2 separate regions of the Homo sapiens genome follow, and region 1 is linked to region 2. The links are contacts of gene promoters, found by promoter capture Hi-C in human tissues and cell types (Jung and others, 2019). All regions are on one chromosome and are shown on one strand. The core of a region is centred on a gene start or on the middle of the fragment in contact, and the rest is flanking DNA. Distances in the headings are between cores, read along the strand shown. Region 1 overlaps SEPTIN8 (septin 8). Region 2 holds the start of SOWAHA (sosondowah ankyrin repeat domain family member A).

Region 1 (3,606 bases), core at 442-2,941, 42 kb before region 2:
CTCCCCTGTTCTTAGCAGGCTTCCAACTCATTCATTCAGTCACTCAACACACACGCACTGGACATGTCTGCTGTGTGCCAGGAACTGAGATGGCTGCCAGTGAAAAGATGAGGACATCAGATCCTTGACCTCAGAGGGCTAAGCCTAAACTCAAATGCCTTTAGAAGCCAGGCAGGTAACATATATAGGTGAAGGGGAGCAGCACCTTAATAACAATGGCAACAACAACAGACATAACTAACATGTATTGCATGCTTGCTTTGCGCAACCCTAATTTAATCTAATTTAGTCCACACATCAGCCCTATGACATAGGCCGTAGCAGCCTCCCCATTGTCTAGATGAGACAATAGAGGCATCAAGAGAGTGTGTAATTTGCCCAAGACCACACTGCTCAGGAGAGCAAAGCCAGGATCTGAATGGAGACAACATGACTGTGAAACCCACACTTCTAGTCACATCACTCCCCGCCTGCTGGATGAAAGACAGCCACTAACTTGGCCAAGCGTGGGGGTTCCCGGGGAGAGGTGGGAATGGCAGAGAACTGGAGAGCCTGTGCTTATGCTCAATCCATGGTGGCCACAGTTCCACAACGCCAGCCAACTGTGGGAACACAGATCTAGTGTTGCCAAATCTTCCCGTTTTTAAAGAGAACCCAAAAATCTCTCTCTATATATACATATATATATATATATATATATATATATATATATATATATACACACACATATATATATATGTGTGTGTGTGTGTGTGTGTGTATATATATATATATATGTATATATGTATATATATATGTATATATGTATATATATATATATGTATATATGTGTATGTGTGTGTATATATATATATATATATATGTATATATGTATATATATGTATGTATGTATTTTTTGAGACACAGTCTGGCTCTGTCACCCAGGCTGGAGTGGTGTGATCTCAGCTCACTGTAACCTCCGCCTCCTAGGTACAAGCAATTCTCATGCCTCAGACTCCCCAGTAGCTGGGATTACAGGCACGCAACCACCACGCCTGGCTGATTTTTGTATTTTTAGTAGAGACGGGGTTTCACTATGTTGGCCAGGTCGGTCTTGAACTCCTGACCTCAGGTGATCCACCTGCGTTGGCCTCCCAAAGTGCTGGGATTACAGGTGTGAGCCACCATGCCTGGCCCAGAAATCTATATTTTTATGTGAAATTCTGTAATTTTTAAAGATTGACAACCAATACAAACTGAGAATACCATGAGGGCCCAATACAACATGTCAGGGGGCTGGTGTGGGCCAAAGGCCTGCTGGTCTGTAAGCTGGCTCTGGTGGGAGGGTGAGCTGGACGGACCCTGCAGCCAGGCTCCATTCTCAAGTCAGGAAGCCCCATGGCAGACTGCTCTGTGGGGAGGAGCCTTCAGGCAGGACAACTTAACTTGGACCCCAGAGAGAGGTGGACCCAAAGCCTCTGGCTCATTCCACACACCCAGCTCCCTGAGGTGCTCACACAGGGGTGAGCGTTGTATATGTCTTCAAAGTCCCAGGATAGAGGGAGTTGGCAGCTCTGAGCTCTACATATGCAATGAGAAACTCCATGGGGCCATTATCCCCTCTCTAATCACTAACAAGCTTTTGGCTCCTGAGCCAGGCCCCAGGCTTCTGTGTCATCATTTCTTTGGCACATCAAAGACAACAACCAAAACAATAACTTCTCAGGCCGGCTGCGTGCCTCCATGCCCGGCCGTCCAAGACAAAGTAGAGAACAGCATTTTGTTACGCAGCCCAGTGGATAACTAGGACGCCCTTTTCCTGATAGGAAATGCTCTGTCTGAGCCTCCTAGAGCAGCCCTCATCACCAGCCAAGAGGAGCTGTCCCTTTTACCATGAAACAAGGTGGGATCTGGGAAGAAACTGCATCTCATGGTTGCCAACACACAAAAACAGGTTTTTATCCAGAAGGAACTGGAAATCTACTGAATCTCTAAACCAACAGAGCCGGGGAAGCTGTGGGTAAATAAAGACCCCTGTGATCCAAACCCCCAAACTAGGCTGGTTGTTGCAGTGGGAGTAGAAAGGATACCCCACCATAGGTGGATTGGCTACCGAGTAATGGACAAAGAGCAGCCCCCAGACCTCAGGCCTTCCAGAGTTCTCCAGTGCCTTGGACTTTGGATGCTTTTCTTCCTCTGGGCTCCCATGCCTAGCACCCACTCACCTGTACACCCAGTCAGGCAGACAGGAAGCCCACTCCCCAGGGGAGCTCCAGCCCTGGGGGTGGCCCTATTAAGTAACTGAGCAATGGACTCAGGAGTCAATGGACCACTGGAAGCTTTCTCCACCCATGTTCCTGGCACAAACTATGCTAGCCCCGGCTCCAGCTCCTCCCAGGAGCCTGGGCCTTAAATAGCCAGAGCAGAGGCCTCTAGCCAGAACCCGTGGTCGCGGTCATAAGCACAACTGTCCTTGAGCCTGAGAGGAATCCTAGGAATTTTCCCAGGAAAGGCTTCGGCTCTGGTCCCAGGATTCCACAGCAAGCCTCTAAGCCCAGGTCAGAGGTTACGGGAAATAACCAAGGAGACATACGTGGGAGGGTGGGGGTGGGATGCTGCTACCCGGGGCCAGGAAGGAAGAATAGAGGCAGGATATACCTGTCCCAAATCAAGAGGACACCTGGGAGCCAAAGCATCTTTCTCCTACAGTGGCAACAGAAAACTTGAGAGAAGATTCAAGCAAGGATCACCCGCCATGGTCCCAACATGACGGCAGTCAAGGTAACAGGAAGCCAATCATCCTCACAAGGCCAGTCCTACTCCACCCATCCTGGGAAGAGAAGGAATTTTGGGAGCAAAACCATCCCCTGACCCCAATACTCCATTCTCTCTGTTTCTCTGTCTCACTAAGAGGCACTGTCTTTCCTTTCTGCACACAGCCAGCCAGGCTGGAGCTTATTAATTTGGGATAGTGTGTTTCAAGCTTTTCCCATCAAAATCAGATTTCCAGGAAGCTAAGAGCACAGTTACTGGTAGCTGGGCCAGTACTCGCCACCCCAACCCCCAGGCCTAGGACAGACACATTCTTGGCCTTTATTGTGCTGCCTGAGAGGGAGTGGTCTATCCCACCACAGAGGAGATGGGGAAGGTGCTCTGGGCTGCAGAATGTACTAGAACTCCAGGCATTCATATTTTCTTACTTAGCTCAGGGACTCCAGTGGCAGCCACCACTGCCTTGTAACAGGGAAAGCCACGAGTGGTCTGGGTATCACTGGCAGGAGAAGGCAGCCTCTGTTTCACAGCAAATGAAACCCTTGGAGGGAGAATGTGGGCAGCAAAGGTGCCCCGCCTTCTGTCCAACCCCACGATGGATGCCAGTGCTGGAAAGGGACGGAGGAATGCATGGGCACCAATACGGGTTGGCAGAGGTATGGGGGTGGCACTGCTATACTTCTCTGCTGCTTGTCCATTCACTCCAACACCAGGCAGAATGTCAGGTTTGTACCCAGGCCCAAGAGCCATGTCTGGCAAGTGGGCTTGGGTCCATACCCACAGCCCCTCCTGAACCCCAAGCATCAGGCAGCCCAAGCCCTGGAGCCCCCTCAGAAAACAGCCAGCCACCTGCCA
Region 2 (3,309 bases), core at 400-2,899:
AGAAATTGCCCCTGGGGATTGGATTGGGGAAAGGGGACCCTTTACATTTTAGTCTTCTGTTTTCCTTTTGAGTAATACTAATAGTAGTGACTATACTACTAATAATAATTCAAATGATTACTGTAAGCCAAGCATTATGCTAAGTCTTTTGTGTTTATTTTCTCACTTAATTCTCTCAACCATCTGAGCAGGTAAGTACTATTTTCCTCATTCCTTTACAGACAAGAAAGCTGAGGCACAGAGAAGTCAAGGCATTTGCCCAAGGTAGAGCCAGAACTCAAGTGTAGAATGTTGACTCCAGAGTCTTGTTTTCTCAGCTACTACAATATGCTGCTTCTGGTTAGATATATTTGTAGTACTGCAATTATTTATTTATTTATGAGACAGGGCTTGCTCTTGTCATCCAGGCTGGAGTGCAGTGGCGCCATCTCAGCTCACTGCAACCTCCACCTCCCGGGTTCAAGCGATTCACCTGCCTCAGCCTCCGGAGTAGCTGGGATTACAGGTGCGTGCCATCACACCCAGCTAATTTTTGTATTTTTAAGTAGAGATGGATTTCACCATGATGGCCAGGCTGGTCTCGAACTCCTGACCTCAGATCATCCGCCCAAGTCAGCCTCCCAAAGTGCTGGGATTAGAGGCGTGAGCCATCGCGCCCGGCCTGCATTTTAAATTAAGGAACTGATTCTACCTCTGCCAGGCAGTTCCCTCAACTAGAAACCTCTTCCCCGTCTACATAACTCCCTGATCTCCTTCAAGTCCTTGTTTAAATGTCACTTTCACAACGAGTACTATCCTGACTGCCCAGATCAAAATTGCAACCTGACCCTCATCCGTTATACCCCGCTGTGCTTTTTTCATAGCATGTATTTAGTATATCATATAGTTTTCGGATTCACCATATGCTTCTGTTCTCCTCCAACACATGAGCCCCACTAGGTCACGGGTTTTTAAATCTGTCTTGCTAACTGACGCATCTTAGCCAAAAAAAAAAAAAAAAAAGTCCTGGCACAAACTACGTGCTCAATACCTATCTGTGGAACAAACGAAGGTTTAAAACCATGGCATGACTCCGCATTGCTTTCTTACTTTAAAGCATAAACATACATACACACATGGGAGACAGGGAGAGGATATTTCAAAATGTTAATGGTGATTTCAAGTGATTTTTTTTCCTTCTTTATGTTTTCCTCTATGTTTTCCTGTTATGTTTATGTTTCCTGTGGTTTTATACCCCAAATTCTACGTGAAAATGTATTCTCTTACCATGAGAAAATTGCTTTTGAAAACGTCTCTCTAAACCTAGAGTAACGTGCATTGCCGCGCAGAGTGAATTGGTTTTGCTGTAAATCTCATGAAGCCGTTTTCCTGCATGAAACACAGTAAAAAAAAAAAAAAACTGGAGTGGTATTGACGACCTTTAAAAAAAAAAGATTGTTCTGAAATCATCGCTTGGTGTTTTGCAGTGGTTAAATGTTTATTAAAGGAATAAAAATCCATTCCTCCTTGGCGGACCGCGGCGTCCCTAGGGAACACACCCACCTAGCAACCGAGACCAGAGCTGGAGCGCTGCGCCTTTAATTCTGGGGCGGGCGGGGGGCGGCGGGAATTTCTGCTCCGGTTCCCTCTGCATCGCGGGGGCAGCTGTCACCTGTAAGGCGAGCGCGGCGCGGGGGATGGAAGCAGGCGCCCATTGGACAGAATACAAAGGCAGAAACCTACCCCGAAGGCCGGGGCCCGGCGGGGCGCTGGGGGTGGGCGCTCCCCGCGGCCCCCGGCGCCCTTCGCCCCGAGACGCCCCGGCCCAGCGGCACTGGCGCGACCGAGGTCCAGCTTCGGGGACACGCCCGGCTGGCCGCGGGGAAGGCACCAGGTGAGCGCGGCCGCGCCTCCCGGAACCCCGCTCCCGCGCGTCCCGCGGCGACGCGGCGCCCACCCGCCCCGGGAGCCAGGAACCCAGGGCCCCACCATGGCGCTGGCCGCCGCCGCCGCCGCTGCGGCTGCCGGGGTGAGCCAGGCGGCGGTGCTGGGCTTCCTGCAGGAGCACGGCGGGAAGGTGCGCAACTCCGAGCTGCTGAGCCGCTTCAAGCCGCTGCTCGATGCCGGCGACCCGCGGGGCCGCGCCGCCCGCAGGGACCGCTTCAAGCAGTTCGTCAACAACGTGGCGGTGGTGAAGGAGCTCGACGGCGTCAAGTTCGTGGTGCTGAGGAAGAAGCCCCGGCCCCCGGAGCCCGAGCCCGCACCCTTCGGCCCCCCGGGGGCAGCGGCCCAGCCGTCGAAACCCACTTCGACGGTCTTGCCGCGGAGCGCCTCTGCCCCGGGAGCTCCGCCCTTGGTCCGGGTGCCGCGGCCAGTGGAGCCGCCAGGGGACCTGGGTCTGCCAACAGAGCCACAGGACACCCCGGGGGGGCCGGCCTCCGAGCCCGCTCAGCCGCCCGGGGAGCGGTCCGCCGACCCACCGCTTCCAGCCCTTGAGCTAGCCCAGGCCACCGAGAGACCCTCCGCAGACGCGGCCCCACCGCCTAGGGCCCCTTCTGAGGCGGCATCGCCCTGCTCTGATCCGCCAGACGCGGAGCCCGGGCCCGGGGCAGCGAAAGGGCCGCCGCAGCAGAAGCCCTGTATGCTGCCGGTGCGCTGCGTCCCGGCCCCCGCCACGCTCCGCCTCCGGGCGGAGGAGCCCGGCCTGCGCCGGCAGCTGTCGGAGGAGCCGAGCCCGCGGAGCTCCCCTCTGCTGCTGAGGCGGCTCTCGGTGGAAGAGTCCGGTCTGGGCCTCGGCCTGGGCCCGGGCCGCTCCCCGCACCTGAGGCGCCTGTCGCGCGCCGGCCCGCGTCTGCTGAGCCCTGACGCCGAGGAGTTGCCCGCCGCGCCGCCGCCGTCCGCGGTGCCCCTGGAGCCGTCCGAGCACGAGTGGCTCGTGCGGACTGCCGGGGGCCGCTGGACCCACCAGCTGCACGGGCTGCTGCTGCGCGACCGCGGCTTGGCGGCCAAGCGCGACTTCATGTCTGGCTTCACGGCCCTGCATTGGGCCGCCAAGAGCGGCGACGGCGAGATGGCGCTGCAGCTGGTGGAGGTCGCGCGGCGCAGTGGCGCACCAGTCGACGTGAACGCACGCTCCCACGGCGGCTACACGCCGCTGCACCTGGCTGCACTGCACGGCCACGAGGACGCTGCCGTGCTGCTGGTGGTGCGTCTGGGTGCCCAGGTGCACGTGCGTGATCACAGCGGGCGTCGCGCCTACCAGTACCTGCGGCCCGGCTCCTCGTACGCGCTGCGCCGCCTTCTTGGCGATCCAGGCCTGCGAGGCACCAC

The links. Contacts are between HindIII fragments. The study calls those that stand out against the background at their distance.
Region 1: a fragment that was not itself captured here is called in contact with the fragment with the promoter of SOWAHA in region 2 in 2 of the 25 tissues and cell types used here (dorsolateral prefrontal cortex and hippocampus).

What each region holds. Positions count from the first base shown.
Region 1 is chr5:132,769,305-132,772,910 of GRCh38, forward strand. All of the region lies in intron 1 of SEPTIN8 (septin 8), which reads right to left. Among named protein-coding and RNA genes, the nearest start is that of SEPTIN8, 6.1 kb to the right of the region's middle. The HindIII fragment of the contact is 3,532 bases long and covers 1-3,457 here.
Region 2 is chr5:132,811,653-132,814,961 of GRCh38, forward strand. It overlaps SOWAHA (sosondowah ankyrin repeat domain family member A), which reads left to right and starts at 1,650. Exons shown (of 1, transcript NM_175873.6): 1 at 1,650-3,309. The coding sequence starts at 1,970. RefSeq lists a silencer at 2,685-2,754 and enhancers at 2,794-3,294, 3,295-3,309. The HindIII fragment of the contact is 8,247 bases long and covers 1-3,309 here.